Linked DNA regions of Homo sapiens: region 1 is linked to region 2. Evidence: promoter capture Hi-C in human tissues and cell types (Jung and others, 2019). All regions are on one chromosome and are shown on one strand. The core of a region is centred on a gene start or on the middle of the fragment in contact, and the rest is flanking DNA. Distances in the headings are between cores, read along the strand shown.

The links. Contacts are between HindIII fragments. The study calls those that stand out against the background at their distance.
Region 1: a fragment that was not itself captured here is called in contact with the fragment with the promoter of SLC25A51 in region 2 in 1 of the 25 tissues and cell types used here (dorsolateral prefrontal cortex).

What each region holds. Positions count from the first base shown.
Region 1 is chr9:38,663,139-38,665,976 of GRCh38, reverse strand. No RefSeq gene overlaps it. Among named protein-coding and RNA genes, the nearest start is that of FAM201A, 43 kb to the right of the region's middle. The HindIII fragment of the contact is 4,635 bases long and covers 1-2,838 here.
Region 2 is chr9:37,902,769-37,905,808 of GRCh38, reverse strand. It overlaps SLC25A51 (solute carrier family 25 member 51), which reads left to right and starts at 1,682. Exons shown (of 3, transcript NM_033412.4): 1 at 1,682-1,741. It also overlaps the pseudogene PAICSP1. RefSeq lists a silencer at 1,482-2,241. The HindIII fragment of the contact is 6,842 bases long and covers 1-3,040 here.

The DNA.
Region 1 (2,838 bases), core at 293-2,792, 760 kb before region 2:
CCTATGACCCATTTTGAGTTCAGTTTGTGAAGGGTGTAAGGTCTTTGTCTAGATCCTTTTTTTTTTCTTTTGCATGTGATGTCTAGTTGTTCCACCACCATTTGTTAAAAAGACTGTACCTTTGGGCCAGGTGCGGGATTACACCTGTAATCCCAGCACTTTGGGAGGCTAAGGCGTTGTGGATCACTTGAGGTCAGGAGCTCAAGACCAGCCTGGCCAACATGGTAAAACCCTGTCTCTACTAAAAATACAAAAATTAGCCAGACGTGGTGGTAGGCACCTGTAATTCCAGTTGCTTAGAAAGCTGAGTTAGGAGAATTGCTCAAACCCAGGAGGCAGAGGTTGTAGTAAGCTGAGATCGCATCATTGCACTCCAGCTGGGCAACAAGAGCAAAACTCCATCTCAAACAAAACAAAACAAAAACCAAAAACCAAAAAACAAAACTGTCCATTTATCCGTTGAACTGCATTTCTTCTTTGTCAAAAATCAGGTGACTGTACATTTACATAGGTCTATTTTGGGGCTCTCTATCCTCTTACATTGACTTATTTGTCTATTCTTTCACCAATACCAGACTCTTGATTGCTGTAACTTTAAAATAAGTCTTAAAGTTGGGTAATGTCATTCTTTCTTCTTCTTCAATATTCTATTGATCTATCCACAGATCTTTTGCCATTTCATGTAAACTTTAGAATCAGTATGTTGATATCCACAGAGTAATCGGCTGAGATTGTGACTAGAATTGCATTGAGTCGGCCGGGTGCGGTGGCTCACGCTTGTAATCCCAGCACTTTGGGAGGCCGAGGCGGGCAGATCATGAGGTCAGAAGATTGAGACCATCCTGGCTAACACGGTGAAACCCCGTCTCTACTAAAAATACAAAAAATTAGCCAGGCTTGGTGGCAGGCGCCTGTAGTCCCAGCTACTCGGGAGGCTGAGGCAGGAGAATGGCGTGAACCCGGGAGGCGGAGCTTGCAGTGAGCCGAGATCACACCACTGCACTCCAGCCTGGGAGACAGAGAGACTCCATCTCAAAAAAAAAAAAAAAAAAAAAAAACAAAAGAAAGAATTGCATTGAATCTATAGATTCCCAGATGGGAAAACTGACCTCCTGGCAATATTGAGTCTTCCTATCTACAAACATTAAACATCTCCCCATTTCTTTAGATTTGTTATTTCTTTCATCAGAGTTTTGTTGTTTTCCTTCATATAGATCTGATACCTGGTTTGTTAACATATACCTAAGTGTTTCACTTTTTTACTGCTAATGTAATTGGTGTTTTGCTTTTAATTTCAATTGTTTATTGCTGATATATAGGAAACCAACTGACTTTTGGATATTAATCCAAATTAAATTTGGTTTAAATTTCAACCAATTAAAGGTTTCGCATCCTGCAACCTGTCTTTAATGACGTATCAGTTCCAGGAGAATTTTTGTTTATTATTTGAGATTTTTCTACTGAATAATGTAGAATAATGTCATTTTAGACAAAGATAATTTTGGTTTTTTTTTTCCCAATCTGTATACCTTTTATTTCCTTCTCTTTTCACACTGTATTAACCAGGACTTCAGTATAATGCTGAATAGGAGTGATGAGAGGGGACATCCTGTCCTTATTCCCAATTTTAGAAAGAAAGCATTTAGTTTCTCACCATTAAGTATGATGTTAGCTGTAAACTTTTTGTAGATGTTCTTTATCAGTTTGAGCAGTTTTTCCTCTATTCTTAGTTCGCTAAGCGTTTTTAATATAAATGCGTGTTAGATTTTGTCAAATGTTTGTTCTGAATCTATTGATATGATCATTTGATCTGATTCTTCTTTAGCTTGTTGATGTGATAGATTGCACTAATTGTTTTTTGAATGTTGAGATTGCATACCTGACATACACCTCACTTGATTGTGGTGTATACACACATATTGTGTTTTTTATATACTATTGGATTCAATTTGCTAATATTTTGTTGAGGATTTTTGCATCTATGTTCATAAGAAATATTTGTCTAGAGTTTTCCTTTCTTGTAATATCTTTATCTGGTTTTGGTATTAGGGTAATGCTGGCCTCATAGAATGAGTTAGGAAGTATTCATTCTACTTTAATTTTCTGGAACAAATTATGAATAACTGATATCATTTATTCCTCAATTGTTTGGTATAATTCACCTTTGAACCCCTCTAAACTTGGTGCTTTCTGTTTTGGAAGTTTATTAATTATCAATTCGATTTCTGTAGTCCATATAGGCCCATTCAGATCATCTATTTCTCCTTATGTGACATCTAGTAGGTTCTGTCTTTCAATGAATTGGTTCTTTTCATCTAAGTTGTACAATTTATGGGCATAGAATTGTTCATAATATTCATTTATTGTCCATTTAACATCCATTTGATCAGAAATGATGATCCCTGTTTCATTTCTGGTATTAGTAATTGTGTCTTCTTTCTTTCTTCTTAGCCTGAATTGAGAAATTTTAAGATTATTTTCACATAAAAACATACATGAGCACATTTGCAAAGACATCCCTCAGTTGCTGCAGCGCCAGCTCCACCCTCAGTCTTTCCAGCAGCCTGCAGTTCTGCTCTTTTACAGGAAACTTGAGGAGTACCTAAACATCTGACTCTCTGCGTGTTACATTTCATCGCTCCTCTGAACTAGGGCACTGAGGGAAATTTTTCTACTGAAAGGTACCATCTTAATTTCTTTGCAAATTAGCATAGAAGAGAGAATCTTGCACTTCACACTAATGAGAACAGTGTGTGGTTTTGTGATTTGGGAACCTGGCAAGGCCACGCAAGCTTCTTGCTGAGCAGCAGTACCGCACTGCCTCCACCAACCCTTAAC
Region 2 (3,040 bases), core at 433-2,932:
GCTCAGCTCCAGACCTCAGTTTTCCCGTTAGCCTGGGATTTTCTGAGTCTGGTGTGCCCCAATTGTGTGTTTAATTTCAGTCTTTTCCTTCTTGTTCAGGTTTTACCGCAGGAGAATAACCTCTCCATTCTAATCTGAAATTAATTATTTATGCTTATGAACACGCTGGATGCCTGCCTGGTTTATTTATTTTTCAAATAATGCATCTGAATAGGCATTCACACAAGACAGGGCAAACATAATTTTGAGGCAAAGGCCCTTTCCAACTGTTGCCCGATTAACTGTTCTAAGCCATTGTGTAGCCTTGTCCTTATCCTGCGGAGTCCAAAATTTATCCCTCGCGTACTAATTAGATGGCAGGTGTCTGTGTCTGACAGTCAAGATTCGCATTATCCAGCCCCACCACCTGACCCTTACAATCTTATCTCCTGCTGCTATGACTTTCTCCACTGGGCCAAATTCCACTCATCCATCCTCCAAGGCCCAGTTCAAACGTCTGCTCTGTGAAGCCATCTCTGGTTCTCCCTCGAGGGGGGAGGTCCCCTCATGCTTCTGAATTTCCAGTCTTTTGTTGTTGTATCCTTCATCAGACGCTAAGCTCCCCAGGACCTGGCACGCAGTAGGTTCCTCAATGGAGCGTTTGCTGGAATGGGGGAGGGTGGTCTCCAGCTTCCCGAGAGGCACCTAAGCACGCCAGCCAAAGTGGGGCTGGGCAGAGACCAGACCCGCTTTTGGAGTCAGTGTCTACAAAGTGCTCTCGGGGGAAGGGGGCACGCGGGGAACGTCGCCCACCCGGAGCCGATCCCCCCAAGAACGCTTCACTCGGGTGGGGTTACTGCTTGGGCTCGCCCCAAGCACAGTGCGCACACTTCACACATCCGCAAGCCTCCTGAAACGCCTCTCCCCTCAGGCCGACCTTTCTGTTTCCTTCAACGCCTCCCATCTGTTGTGTGCGTTCCAGTTTCCAACTCAGAGTCAGAACCATCATTTCCAAAGACTCCTGCAACAGCCCGAGGACGCATACAAGGCATGGGTTACTTTTCAGACGGAGATTTGGGGCTCAGGGTCCAGCGACTCACCCAAGGTCACTCTCAAGAAGTATGAGGGCTATGACTTTGACCCAAGCCTTCTAACTCCCCGGGCAGCGCTCCTCCCAAGCCCCCCGCAAGCTGTCTGAGCTTCAAAGGAAAAAGTTTAAAAGTGATCCATACGTCCCAAAGCACGCACAAAGCGTTCTTCTGTAAACTGCGGCATGGGTCGCTGATAAAAGGTCCCTCTGAAGGTTTGAAGATACTCAACAAGGCTCCACAGAGGGTACTTTGGAGTTTTCCGCGAAGGCGCTCGCCCCGCAGAACCGACAAGGCCCCTAAAACCGACAATGCCCAGACGCCCCCTGCAGGCAGCGCGCTAGAGAACGCGTTGGCTGTTTCTGGCACGCTGAGGCCACCGTACGGCATCAAGGGTGAAGCATGGTGGCTAGCGGAGCCCGCATCCTGACAGGTGTGCTGGCGTGGCCCTCTACCTGCCCCGCCGCGGCGGCCTGCGGCCAGGAGAAGTAGGCTGGCGACATCTGGCGGGCCGCGGGCCGAGGGAGGGGAGGCGGGGCGGGGCGGTGTCTCCCTCACGTGACCCCAACAGCGCCCAGCGCGTCGCGCTGCGCCCCAACCTCGGGGTCGGTCACAGTCTGCGCCTGCGCGGGCCCCGGCTCGCTAGCCGTCCTGCGGGACGCCGGCGCTGATGGGTGAGTGTGGGACGAGCGTGGGGAAGCACCGGGCTTTCTTCGCATGAGGTTGGAGGGAGGGGAAACGCGCTGAAGGGCCCGCTGGGGCAGGCTGCCGCCCTGGGGGCCCATCCCTGTCTTCTGCGCGCTCCGGCTGCCCTGGCCCGGTCCCTGCGGGCCCCACCCAGGCGGCGCGGGCGGAATCAGTTCTGAGCCTCCTCGGCTCCGGGCTCCCCCGCCTGCCGCGGGTGTTTGTCCGGCTGCTGGGCGACCTTTCCCGCGAAGGCGCTGTCCCTTCATTCGGGCGCGCCCTGGGCTGGGGAGGCACCTCCCTGGTGCACAGGAACCGCAGGGGCGGGGAGGAGCCGGGAGCTGCCTGCGCCCGGGGGACAGCGGGGATGGCACCGCGCAAGGGCCTCTGCGTCCCGGGAGACTGGGATTTCGGCCTCACCTCGGGACCCCTGACTGTGAAGTGTCAGAAACGGAAGAGGACTTAGTGATCTTGTCCAACCCCCTCCCCGCCTTTCACAGGTTGGGGAAATGGACGCCTGGAGAACGGTAAGTTCAGCTACATAGCCTGGCAGTGCTTGTTCTGCGACAGCATATTGCATCGCGTTGTAGGAAGCTCACTTGTACAAGGATTTTCGGGGACGATGGTGTTGGTGGTGTTAGTCTCCATCCATTATTTGGTGTTCAGTTTAGCTAGATGGAGTATGTCAGCACCTCAACTTCCTGCAAAACCTTTGTTTTGCATCTCACAGCTCTACCTAGCTGATCTTAATTCCCACCTTCTGTTTTTCTCTACTTGTAATCTCTGAAACAGAAGCCCTTGAAATGTATAGTGACCTTGCCATTTTGAGCCGCCTCTGCCCGTGCTTTGAAAGGATTCCATAGGATCAAAAGGTGCTAGGACTCTTGAGGTCCCATAGTGGTTTAGAGCACAGGTTACCGCTTTGGAACTGGAATCACCCTTAGCGCATCTCAGGGGAAAACAAGCTAGGAGTTGACTCATCTGATCTCTCGTTTGGTAAATGAAAGCAAACTCAGATCAGTGGATTTTAAAATCAGATATTGCTTTGTCTTTATATTGGCAAGCTAGTGTCGTAACTAGGACTAGACCCAGGCTGATCTTGTTCTGAATGCTGACTCAGACCTGCTGACTAGTGGAAATTCACATCCTTTGAGAATTGGAGTCACCCTCTCCCCAGTTTTTGCAGAGACCTTTGTGCTAGGATCATATCTGTATCATGCTGATCCATGTAGGCTGTAAATTATAATAAGGTTTTAGACTTTACACTGTTTTCTTAGTCACAGAAGCTT